Regions from separate parts of the Homo sapiens genome. Here region 2 is linked to region 1. The links are contacts of gene promoters, found by promoter capture Hi-C in human tissues and cell types (Jung and others, 2019). All regions are on one chromosome and are shown on one strand. The core of a region is centred on a gene start or on the middle of the fragment in contact, and the rest is flanking DNA. Distances in the headings are between cores, read along the strand shown.

Region 1 (6,705 bases), core at 2,963-5,462:
TGGGAGGCCCAGGTGGGTGGATCACCTGAGGTCAGGAGTTCAAGACCAGCCTGGCCAACATGGTGAAACCCTGTCTCTACTAAAAATACAAAATTAGTCAGGCATGATGGCACACACCTGTAATCCCAGCTACTCGGAAGGCTGAGACAGGAAAAGTGCTTGAGCCTGGGAGGCAGAGGCTGCAGTGAGCCAAAATCATGCCGTTGCACTCCAGCCTGGGCAACAAGAGTAAAACTCCATCTAAAAAAAAAAAAAAAAGAGAAAGAAAATCTTCATGCCACAGGCACATCCTGCTGTATATGTGGTCTGCTCTGGGAATCAGCTTCCAATAACATTTCCTTACAGTATGATTTCTGGGCCTTTGTCTAGCTTTACTTGTATTTTAGTTTAATTCCTTTAATCTATTTTAGTTTAGTTAGAAGGATTAAAATAGCCTCCATGTACCAGTCAAAGTACACAGCCACCAGCTCAGGTGTTTTCATTTATTTCTAAACATGGAGCTTTCACAATTTCATTAGAGATACATGTTTGGATGTGGGTCCCTGTGAGACATAAAGTGATCACCAGACAGCTCTGGAATTGGACAGAGCAGAAAACCTGGGGTTAGACAAGCCAGGGTTGAATCCTGGCTCTGCCACTTTCTAGCTGGTGATGCTGGGTGCAGTACTTCAGCTCTCTGGGCCTCAGTTTCCTTATCTGTAAAACGGGAATACACCTACCTCTAAGAGTTGTTGGGAAGTACTGTGAAGCAGGTGGCGCAGTGCCTGATGTGTTCTTCTCATCAAGCATTTACTACTAATCTAGTGTGCCAGACGCTCTGCTAGGGGCTGAGAATGGAGTGACGGAGAAGCCACAGTCCCCCATCTATCAGAACGCAGGCACATACCAGGGCGCATACGTGAGAGCGGCATTTGCAGTGCGAGTGCATCGCCGCTCCTGGGCACCTTCAGAACACGCGTGGGTTTGGGGGAGAAGAGCTGGGTCACTTGCCAGGATTTGCTCGCTGCTGCACTCTGTACTGCCAGCCTCCTGGCAAGCTTATTTCACCGTGAGCCAGATCAAAGCCAGAAGGCAGAGGAGCACTGGCTGGTGCATGGTGACCCGAAGTCCTGCGCCCCTCTCCAACCAAAACTCGCAATGCTTGAGGGAGCAGAGCTCCTGGACCAGCCGCCAGAGCACCTGCTGGTGGAGCTTGTTGTCTGGCTTCTGGAACTCCCCCTGGTTCGCCGCCTGGGTGGCATTGATGCAGCCGGTGACAAATGCCTCCTTGGTCACATTAGCCTCAGAGCAGCCGTTGTAGTGGATGCCATCGGGGAACTGCCAGTAGTTGGCCTCGTAGTACCTGTTGCCCTCGGCTCCGAAGTCAATGTCGAGCTTGCGGCCTTGCTTGATGAAGGCTCCCGGGCGGTTCTCAGCCACCTGGGCCTCAGTGATCTGGGCAGTGCTGGGCAGGGCCTTCCGGTTCCACTTGATTCTGTGCTTGATGCCCCTCGTCTGGACCGCAGAGAGGTGGCTGAAGAGCAGCATGCAGACAGTGGCCAGCCACCACCAGCTCAGGTGCTTCCTCATCGCGTCAGAACCTGCCAGAGAAACGGCGGTGGGTCAGCTCCCCACCAGGCCTGCCTGGGCTCCCCTGCCCCCTCCCAAGTGCAGGAGATTTTAAGGAAGGAATCGCATCCTTGTGCTATTTATGTGGTCTCAAAAGCATAATTGTTTCCCCATGTTTGGGTTGTGCAGGGTTAACTCAAACACCGAGCTCCTTTGCTATTGCTAGGATTACATTCACTCAGGGCTCTGGTCCCGGTTTCCGAGACAGGTAAGAATGGCAAAGGGCAATTATAGTGGCTTTGAATACGCATGGGAAAATAAAGGAGTGGTGACTTAATACATGTAGGTTTTCTTTGATACTCCCAAGTCTTTCAAATCAAGAAATCCCTGGGAGGAAAATACAATAGAAGAGTTGGAATCAAATGCTGGTGGGCATGGACTATATGTGTGTGTGTGTGTGTGTGTGTATACACGTATATATATACACATATATATGTATATATACACGTATATACACACACATATATACATATATACACACATATATGTATATATACACACATATATATATACGTATATGTACAGACACACACACATACACACACACACACACACACACACACACACACACACATATTTTAGAGACAGGATCTCACTCTGTTGCCCAGGCTGGAGTGCAGTGGCATGATCATAGCTCATTGCAGCCCTGAACTCCTGGGCTCAAGCAATCCTCTTGCCTCAGCCTCCGGAGTAGCTGGGACTACAGGCACACACTACCACACCCAGCTAATTTTTAAATACATGTTGTAGAAACGGGGTCTCACTATGTTGCCCAGGCTCAAGTGATCCTCCCACCTCAGCCTCCCAAAGTGCTGAGATTACAGGCACGAGCCACTGTGCCGACTTTAGATTGTACTTTCAATCTCCCCTCTTTGTTCTTTATTGCTCTGAGCTGGCACTGTCTTGGGGGCATTCTGCCATCCATTCTGAGGAATTCACTGGCTGCTGATCCTAAAGGGCTTTGCAGTAATGAGAGAGAGAGGAGGAGGAAGGAAGGGAAAGATGGAAACGTAGCAAAGGGACCCCTGCCTCCCCTATGTCCAGGGGTCAAGTGTGCTCCAGGCATCCTTTCCAATCTCACCCCTGGGGGACAGTGTGACCATCTGCTTATCCTACTGGCTTTTTATTGCATACTTTCTTCATGCCTGCCACCGTGTTAAGCTCTTCTCTGACATTGCCTAACTTAATTCTCACATAGAGTAGGTACATTATTATCCCCATGTTATAAATGTTGTCCTGGGATTCAGAGAAGTTAAGTAATTTGCCCAAGGCTGCACAGCGGGGAGGTGGCAGACCTGCACTGGGCTCTGTCTAATGCTGCACTGCATGTGTCCACTAGCCATGCCCCACTGCCCATCTGGGTTTCAGGAGAAGACAGTGCTCACACACTGTGCTTTTCACTCACTGGGTATGATGCCCCCTGAGCTGGGCAAAGGGCAAAGGGCAGGGCCCTTGAGGAATTTCGGAGAAAACGAGATGAAAGGGAAGACAGGAGGGCCTGGGGGAACACCAGGAGGGTCCCGGGTCAAGGTGGCCCTGGGACATCCGAAGGGCTGCCACTGATGTCATGGAAAAGCCCCTCACCCCACACCTTAAGGTTGCCTGTCACATTCGGCTCCTGAATCTACAATAGCCATCAAGGAAATCCACTTCCCAAGGCCGACTGTCAGGGCATTCTAGCACCTGGGTCTTTGCCTGTGTGGATTAGGGAAATGGAAGGAGTTCCCATACCGGAGCTTGCCTAAGCTGTCTCCTAGGCAAAGACTTACTGTGAGGCCATGGGGCCCCAGAGCTGGAGGAGGCTGACAGGGAGCTTGTTTCGCCCCTCACACACCCTCCACCACCCTGCTGCAGCTTCCCTAAAAGTGGCTAATGTTCCTCTGATAAAATGTTCAACTCTGATGCCACATTGCTCCTTATATTAAAAAAAAAAGGCAAAACACAGCTGAAGTGATCTCTAGAAGCACATCCAGTCATCTCTAGAAGCCTGCAAAGAGGCCTCACTGACCTTTCCTTGCTTGTAGACATCGCCTCGTCTTTGTCCCAGGGTGGCTATGAGCATCTGGACCCCCTCACCCCACTCTCTCTGCCTCCTGAGCACAGTGAACTCAGACTGACTTTCTCCAAAGAGATCCAAGCATGAAGCAAATATTCATTAGTCTCCTAAATAGGGCCATACTCCACATCATTCCTTTTTTAAGGAGAAATCTTAAATAAGATTAATGGCATAATAGATCATTTCAGGTGAGTCAAATAAAAAAAATAAAAGCACAGCATTCTTGAGAAAGAGATTAGTTTTCATAGGCAGAAGCTTAAAGGCAAAACAAAATCCCAACCCACAAACCCTAAAGTAGCATTTTATTATAGCACCAACTTAGAGAAAGGCAAGCCCAGTGATGACTGGGTATCCTCGCAAGTCTACCCTGAACTTGGGACCCATCCCCAGGTGTGGGAGTAAAGAAATCATTGCATGATTTTCAATCTGGGATCGAGCCTTGATAAGAAACCAGCAGTCCTGACCACAGAAGTGGCCCCCCACGTACCTTGGCTCTCTCTGGAGTGTGCCTCTGGAGCCTCGAGCTGCACAGTCCCCCAGCACACCCTCTTGGCAGCCAGGTCCGCCCAGCTATATAGGAGCTGCCGGGGGAGGTGGCATTCCTGCAGGTCTCCAAATAAGGCAGCCCTTCCCTCCCCGGCAGACCAATCAGGGCTTCCTGGACCACTCCTTCATCCTGAGAAGGATGGACCTTCTCATCACACTTTACTAAGGAAACCACGTGAAAATCTTGATGAAGTTCAGCAAGGCTTCAGAGGTGCCTTTTAGAATTGGAATGAGATGTGTTAGAAGGAAAATGCTTTTCCCATCAATATCTATGACAGATGTGGCTTCAACAAGCCTCGCTGGACATGCATAGTGTCCTGTACCTAAAGGCCGGCCTTGGACAGCAAAGCAGTCTTTGCTGACAGCCTCTGTGGGGAGGTTCAGCTCAAAAAGAGGGCAAGCGTTCACCTGGACCACCACGCCCTGAGGATGGGACCAACAGGGTGTGTGTGTGGTGGTGGGGGGGGGGGGCGCCGGGGGGCGGTTACACTTTCATCGGGTAGTGGGAAAACAGAACTGGTAGGTATGGGGTGGAAGACACGTGAGAAGACTTCCTGGCATGTTGGGCGAGGAATGCTTGAAGGACTGAATTAGCCCAAAGGCCAATAAGTTAAAGATCTGCGGGAACCCCGGGAGCAGAGACACATTGACACGCAGCCAGTCCCCTGGACAGGTGGTGCGGGCTGAGGGCGAGTTCTGCAGAGTGCCTTCTCCTCTACATGGTGTCCGAGCGCTGCGCAGAAGGGGCTGGAGGTGCATTCCTGGGCTTTCCAAAGCAAGAGACTCATTGGTATTGGGTGACCATTTTGGGCCTTATACAGAAGGGACTTGCTCAGGTGTCCCTGTTACAGTTAGTACTGCAAGGCAAAGTCAAAAGTGAATATGGGAGCAAGTATGGGGCCAGATTTTCCTGTAAACAGAATGCGATTTTTATGCTGAATGTGACCCCGTCAGTGTTCACGGTGGATTTGCGTCAGAGCAATTTTGCAAACCAAATTAAACGGTTGTTATCGAGAAGGACAGCAGATAGCGCCAGAGAGCTGACAAAGACCGCAGCCGGTCGGTGGGAAACCCGGGCTTCTGGGCTCTGGGTGGATTTGGGGCCTCCGGTTGGGCCTTTCTTTCTCCTCTGACTTTAACATTTGTTTCACTTCCCCACTTTTTTTTTTTTAAGAACTTTTCTATTTCCTTTCTAGAACCACAGACTTTTTGTGCTTCTGAATACACACAAAACAGAAACACAGTAGTGTAATCTTAGTACAGACTGTTTGCAAAATGGAGATGAAAAAATCAAAATCTCCTAATAGTTCAGTACCCAGAGACAAATGTCAGGACAATTTTGTTTCACATATAGATACTTAGGGCCACAGTGTTTAGAGCTAGAAAGGACTCAGAATTCTGTGGTCCAGCTCCTTTGCATGGTGAGCTCACAGGCCCAGATAGGCTCAAGGTCACCCAGCCAGGCCGGCAGTGCAGCCTCGGCAGGCTCGTTGTCCCATTGTGAACTCTGTGCACTATCCCCCTGCCTGTTCCCACTAGACACAATCATCTCCAACCCCCTCCACCCCTCTTCTTCCTATTCCCTTTCTAAGCAGGACTTTACCCAGAGAATGGTGGGAGGTTGGTTTAGAGCTGACGTGGCAGCAGATTCCTCTTGTTAGTGAACAAAAGGCTGTTTACAAAGGCACAGAGGAATGGGGAAGACTGAAATTGCTACAGAAGCAGGGAGGAGCTCTGGAAGCTGCAAACAAGGCAAGAAAACAATAAGCAGATGTGGAGAATGTGGAGCCGACCCAATGCTGCCTCGCATCCTCCCTCCCTGCCTGTAAAGATCGACAAACAGACCAAGGAATTAGTGTGAGAACATTCATTTCTTCAAAAGAACTGAGAGACCAGGGCCAAGTGAATTACACTATGTTACATAAAGTGGATTATATTATATAGTCTGGGAAATAGAACTGTGTGTAGATCATCTTTGAGAAAGCAGGAAGAATGAGATGGAGACCACAGATCTGGGTGTTCTATGATGCAGGGGTCTATGACATAGTTCTCTAGATCGCGTAAATAATAGAAAATTATGCCAGTTTCTAAAAACGCAACAGGGAATGGCTGAATTCTAGAATGCATGAATGGGTCATTATTTGATCAATTTCCAGCTTTGATTAGACCTTGGACCAGTTTGAGAGCATTTATAGGTGAATACAGTGATCGTTTGGATATAACCTAGCAGGCCAAATTAACTATACCAGGGAGATTACTGTTTGGCAAGATTACCAACCATATTTGTGCCAGGAAAAGAAGAACACAAGAAGGATAAGCCAGGTTCCATTGCTGGCCCATGGCCTAATGGTAGAGAAATCGCTGAAATGTGATTTGGAAAATAATACTTATTTAGCTGTGTAGCTACCTAAACAGCTGTTACAGTCTGAATGCTTGTGTCCCTCAACAACTCATATGTTGAAATTCTCACCCCCGAGGTAATGGTAATGGAGGTG
Region 2 (6,705 bases), core at 1,260-3,759, 49 kb after region 1:
CATAGTATTCAGCCATTTAATGGCTGTATATCACATAGCTGGGAAGAACATCCCTGTAGTTAAATAAGTTGTCAGGAGTAGAAGGTGCAGAAAAGATGGGCATATTTTTAAGCTTTTGAGGCATGCAGCCAAAGTGGTTGCACCAATTTAGATTCCCACAAAAGCGTGCTCTGAATATCCCAGCATGATATTATCACTTTTTTCCTAATTATTACCAATTTGATAAGTGAAAATAGCATTTGTTTTAGTGACTGATTAAAGCTTTTTGATTGCTGTAAAGTTAATTGTGAAACCCTGGCTTTTACAAAGAACCTCAAGAGACAAAGTGAGGAGGAAGCATATTCGAACAATTTTTAAAGTCACCGGCTACTGGCTTCTTGGTCTTTTTTCGCTGTCTTATCTGGATAAGGAACCCAGCTGCTCCTGTAATTGATTTAACACCCCATGTTTCTGGTTACCTATGTGAGTGCTGATGTATTCATCTTGGAATATTCTCAAGTTATTTTCCCTTTATAAATGAACCAGAGAAATATGTGAAATTATGATAGAAAAGTTTAGAAAGTTGAGAATTTCTTTCTGGTCAGACATCTGTGAGAAATTATCTCTATTATCTTTGAAATTCTTCTTTCTTATTGTGTAATATACTTTGCTGAGGCAAGGTTTTCTCTTTCAATGCATTCTTTGTTTATAAGAAACTAAGTCAGTTGCAATAATTCTGTTGGACAATTTTCTTGCTTTCTGCTCCATCTTTTTTTCTCTAAAGAACAGATAAAAGAAATGAGAAAGAATAAGAATGCTATATTTCATTGGTATTTTTCAACTTTCTAAGATTTTGATGCTCAAAAAATTGTATAGAGGCATTCTTATGTACACACTGCTTTTATGTTTATTTGTTAGAATTGTTATATTCCTTCCCAGTAGAGAGGTACTTGCATAATATTTGTGGCATTTGTAAGTGGAAATCATATGTAACAATAATGCAAAATTACTCATAGGAAAATAACATTTCTGTGTGACCATCTGATGTTGACCATCAGAAGAGGGATTCACTTTGGGTTATTTGTCTAATGATATTGCCAGGTTTATCTTAATTTGTCCACAGCTTCTCCTAGCCTTTCTTGTCCCAAGGGCGCACATTGGCAAGAAGCTTGGGGTGGTCGGGGAAATAGTTTTTGTCCAGGAATTGAGTTAATTTGGCCCACATGACCCCCATGGTCATTTCTAAACTTCACAAAGAAAAAGTACATCATCAAAATAAATCCTAAAATTCACAATAGAACAAATATATAAATGTAGAAAACTATAGTTTCAGAACTGATTAAATAAAAGGAATCCTCAGATCAAAATGTCAGTTTTAACTATAGTGTTCACAGCTGCATGTTCCATAGCTATAAGCCACATGTGCTCTTTAAATTTACATTAAAACATTTAAATAAAACTAAAATTTAATTCCTCAATCACACCTGTCACATTTTAAGTGTTCATTAGCCACACATGGCTGATGTTGGTCAAATAACTTTTACTCTTGTTTTTTTTTAAGTTGTCTGTATACTTTGATCCTGAAAAACCTTTTTAGCTGGAGAGAGACTGTTCCCCCCTGGGCCAGCCAATTCTTAGAGATAACGAAGGACCCAGCCAGGAACGTGCCTTTGATATGAAAACAAACCAGTCCTAAACCAGACCTTCCCTATCTGGCCCATGCAGCTCAGGAAGCAATATTCCTCTGCCTTAATCATCCCAGGGCCAGGTACTAGGCAACTAGAGATCACTACTATAGGCCAAAGATCAACCAAATTATGCAAACGAACCAGTCCTAAACTGTTTACCCTGCCCTGTTCTGCTTTTCCCACTGAAACCCCAATGAAGGCTCTAGCCTCGGCTTTCTCCTCCTGTCTTTTGCTTCCTGACCACTCTGGTGTCTCTCCCATGTGGCCCTTCATGGCTTGCCATGCCTCCGGTCTCTGGGACCTGTGAGTACAAGAGACTTTGTTTTTTCCTGAGCCTCTCCTGTGTTTCCTTTTGTAGCTGCACATGCTCATCTCATAAAAGAATCAAGGGGGCCAGACATGGTGGCTCATGCTTGTAATCCCAGCACTTTGGGAGGAATTCAAGACCAGCCTGGCCAGTGTGGTGAAACCCAGTCTCTACTAAAAATACAAAAATTAGCTGGGCATGGTGGTGAGTGCCTGTAATCCCAGCTACTGGGGAGGCTGAGATGGGAGAATTGCTTGAACCCGAGAGGCGGAAGTTGCAGTGAGCCAAGATCGCACCATTGCGCTCCAGCCTGGGCAACAGAGTGAGACTCCATCTCAAGAAAGAAAGAAAGAACGAAAGAAAGAAAGAGAAGGAAGGAAGGGGAGAAAGAGAAAGAGAGAAAGAGAAAGAGAGAAAGGGAGAAAGAGAAAGAGGGAGAGAGAGGGAGGAAGGAAGGAAGGATGGAAATAAGGGAAATGCATACAGAAAGTTAACTGAAAAACAGAAGTTACATATGTTCATGTTATTCCCCAAACACACTTTAAAGAGTTGGCTTTTATTATTGTTTTATTTATTTATTTCTTTATTGAGATATAGTCTCACTGTGTTGCCCAGCTGGTCTCAAACTCCTGGGGTCCAGCAATCCTTCTGCCTCAGTTTCCTGAGTAGCTGGAACTACAGGTGCTCCCCACCCCACCTGGCTAGAGTTTATTGTTCAGGAATAAAGTTTAAGCTTTTGTGAGTGAGGAATATACTTATCCAACCCATTAGTGTTGAGCTTGTCCATGTAAATTATGCTGGCCAATGGCATGTTAGTGGACGCGGTGGGTCCAGAGGCTTGAAATGTGCTTGTTTTCTTGTTCTTCTGCCTCCATCATGAAAAGAGCCTGCCTTAGACAGCTGTTGGTCCAAAGAGGATGAAATACTCCTGGATCCAACCTGCAATTGAGATCCAAGCCTGCCAAACTCAGTCTATGTTGGCCCAATCCCAGGCAACCTGAGGATGCATGAGTGAAAATCAATTATTTGGTGTTGAATGCCAATCCATTTTGGGTTGATGTGCTATCTCATACCACGCTTACCCTTTCATCTTTTTTTTTTGAGACAGAGTCTCGCTCTGTGGCCCAGGATGGAGTGCAGTGGCGCAATCTCAGCTAACTGCAACCTTCACCTCCCAGGTTCAAACAATTCTCATGCCTCAGCCTCCTGAGGAGTAGCTAGGGCTACAGGTGCCCGCCACCACACCTGGCTAATTTTTGTATTTTTAGTAGAGATGGAGTTTCACCACATTGGCCAGGCTGGTCTCAAACTCCTGACCTCAGGTGATCTGCCCACCTCAGCCTCCCAAAGTGCTGGGATTACAGGCCACCACGCCTGGCCCCTTTCATCTTTTTTTTTTGTATCAATTGTTGTCTCTGCTTTGAATATTCTCCCTATCTTTGTCCACCTGGGTGAAATCCTTGGTATACTTCCAGCTCCACATTCAAATATCACATCTGCTGTGCAATCTTTCTGGATTTGTTTTCTTCTACCATCTAAATATAGTTGTAAGAAATATTTTTTAAAAAGCACCCAAACTTTAAACAAATTTTCTACTCACACTCACTATACAATACTTCACCTCTGGTCACTGACATGTGGGATTTCTTCCCACCAAAAAAAACCCCAATTCTCTGGTAGACATCAACTAAGTGTCATACAATGTAACTCAGAGTTAGTAGGCACTGCTCCATTATCTCATTTCCTGGATAGTATTTCTTGGCTGTAAAAGTGTTCATGATTTTTTTTTTTTTTTTTTTTTTTTTTTTTTTTTTTTTTTGAGACGGAGTCTCGCTCTGTCGCCCAGGCTGGAGTGCAGCGGCGCGATCTCGGCTCACTGCAAGCTCCGCCTCCCGGGTTCACGCCATTCTCCTGCCTCAGCCTCCCGCGTAGCTGGGACTACAGGCGCCCGCCACCACGCCCGGCTAATTTTTTGTATTTTTTAGTAGAGACGGGGTTTCACTGTGTTAGCCAGGATGGTCTCGATCTCCTGACCTCGTGATCCGCCCGCCTCGGCCTCCCAAAGTGCTGGGATTACAGGCGTGAGCCACCGCGCCCGGCCCTCATGATTTTTTTTGAAGTGTTCTTCTCCTTGTATAGTTCCAGTGTCTTCCAGTTGATTATTTTGTATTGGTTTGGGATTTATCTTTCCTGTACCTTTCTTCCTCAGCCATCTGGCAATCTGCTCGTGTGGAAGGGTGAGCCCTTCACAGCTGATTGGATGCTCCGAGTGCACAGGTGGGGCTTGGCAGCTTCAACTGTCTGGGCCCTTTGACTGGAAACCTCTCTGCTTCCTGTTGGGATGGTGGCTGGCGTTCTGGGAACCGCATGAGGAATGAGGCTGGGGGATGGGATAGGGCTGCCCCAGCATCCGCAGTGCCCACACTCATGTAGTTCTCCTGTTCTCAGTGTGACTCCTTGCTTTCCACTGAGTTCAGTGTCTCCTAACCAGATCCTGTATTCACCCTCTTGAAATGAATCTCTGGCTTTCTGCAGGGGAGGGCAGAAAGTCAGTGATCTGGCTAAACAGAGTTGGGGAGATCTGGGGATCTGACAATTCCTTAAACAGCTTTTTTCCAGTTCTCATTACTTCAGCCTTTTCCTCCATCTTCATGTCCAGAGGGGCCAGGTGTCACCAATTAATCAGCCTTTTGGGGATTCAATGGTAAAAATAGGGCAGGCCTTTGGCTTCCTCACTGCCAACCCAGCATTCGACTCCAGGGATCAGCGACCTTAGTGACCTCTCCAAAGTGCCCTTGCTGCATCTCCTCCCCCATTCTCCCTGTGCTCACCGCCCACGGTATTTTCATGAGTGTTCAAGCTGCTGCTTTTACACAGGAGTGCTGATCACGCCATCCTTCTCCAGCCATGCTCTTCTCTTGGCTTCTTGAGTGCCCCATACCTGGTTCCCTTGTCTCCCACTGGCACTCCTCTTGTTGCTGCCTCCCCCTCTTCCTCCTCCTCATCCTGTACGTGGGTGCTGCCACAGGACTTCAGCCAAGGCTCCCATTTGCCTCTGTCTATACTCTCCGAGTGATCTCCTCTGGTCTCATGGTTTTAAACAATATCTGTTTGCTGGTGACACCCAAATTTGCATCTCTAGCCCTGCTTTCTCCTATTTGAGTAGATACTAGAAGGAAATGAGAGTCAAGCTCCGTGGATGTCTGGGAGAGTGGAATTCTGGGCACAGGGGGCAACAAGTGCTGGTGCCAGAGATGCGGTCTGCCTGGCATATTGAGGAGCAGCTGGGATGACCTTGAGCAGGAAGGACATACGGTCTGGTGTCTGAGTTAGGAGTCTGTGGTGGCCACAGCCATCACCTACTACCCTGCTCTACAGGAGAACAGATGGTGAAAATAGTGGAGTGGAGCATGAGTGTACGAGGTCAATGCTAAGGGCATGACCAAGTCATGGGGCCTATCTGTAGGACATGAGAGTCACGGGACTGATGCCTACATACTTGATGGAAAACCCAGGTGTGAAAACAAGAAGACCAAAGGTAGAAAATAGAGTACGTCTCATGACCTTGCTACTCAGACTGTGGTCCCTGGACCAGCAGCATCCGCATCATCTAACCTGGGAGCTGGTTAGAAAGGCAGAATCTCAGGCCCATCCCAGACCAAATCAGTATTTGCATTTTGGCAAGAGCCTCAGATAATTTGTTTGTACATTGAAGTTTGAGAAACGCTGCCTTAAGTGCTCCCAGTGAAGGACCATTGGGCACTCGGAGGAGAGTAGGTGTCTGATGCTCACACAAGTTCCTGAAGATATTCTGCTCATGGTTTGAAAGGCCTATATGTTACTAGATTATACAGTCACCAACCATATAAGATCTAAGGGACACCCAGGCAGAGAGAGTCAGGGATGTAGCCCAGGGCATCCTGGCACTGGAGTGGACCTCAAAGCTTGGACTGGGTACCCCACAGGTTCCTTTCCAACACCAAGAATTTATGCTTCTATATACAATATCTTTGTACATTATCTTTGCCTCCTTGTGCAAGTGATTTCTGTAAGACACATTCCATAAGTGGGCATGCTTAAAATTTTCATAGATATTGCCAGATTTCTCAACAAAAAAGGACACCCATTTGCATTCCTGGTATCAGAACACATGTGTTCTCCACGCTGTTGCCAACATAACTTATTATCAATCTTTTACATTTTGGTACTTGGATACATTAAAAAGTTATATTTAGTGATTCAAATTTATGTTATTGGAAGGTTGGACATCTTTTCATGTGTATTGATCATTTGTATTTTTTGCCCTGTAATAAGTCTGTTCACATACTTCTCTAATTTTTTTAATAAGGTGGTTTTTCTCACTACTGATTTATGCAAACTTTTTGATAAGTGGGAAATTAATTTTGGTCTTTTTCATTACAGATATTTTCTTTTGATTTCATTTAAGACACACACACACACACACACACACACACACACACACACACACAAGCACAAACATACCTTTACAGTGTAGAAATGTAAAATTGTGGCCAGGCGCTTATGCCTATAAATCCCAGCACTTTGGGAGGCCGAGGTGGGCAGTCACTTGAGGTCAGGAGTTTCAGACCAGCCTGGGCAACATGGCAAAACCCCTCTCTACTAAAAATTTAAAAAATTAGGAAGGTGTGGTGGTACATGCCCATAGTACCAGCTACTCAGGAGGCTGAGGCGGGATAATCGCTTGAACCC

The links. The method cuts DNA at HindIII sites, captures the fragments that hold promoters and counts their contacts. A contact is called where the count stands out against the background at its distance.
Region 2: a fragment that was not itself captured here is called in contact with the fragment with the promoter of PRND in region 1 in 3 of the 25 tissues and cell types used here (dorsolateral prefrontal cortex, ovary and spleen).

What each region holds. Positions count from the first base shown.
Region 1 is chr20:4,719,416-4,726,120 of GRCh38, reverse strand. PRND (prion like protein doppel) reads right to left here and starts at 4,212. Exons shown (of 2, transcript NM_012409.4): 1 at 4,152-4,212; 2 at 1-1,580. The coding sequence starts at 1,569. The coding sequence ends at 1,039. RefSeq lists an enhancer at 5,290-5,509. The HindIII fragment of the contact is 13,371 bases long and covers 2,479-6,705 here.
Region 2 is chr20:4,668,829-4,675,533 of GRCh38, reverse strand. No RefSeq gene overlaps it. Among named protein-coding and RNA genes, the nearest start is that of PRNP, 14 kb to the left of the region's middle. RefSeq lists a cis regulatory region at 1,385-2,069. The HindIII fragment of the contact is 3,609 bases long and covers 705-4,313 here.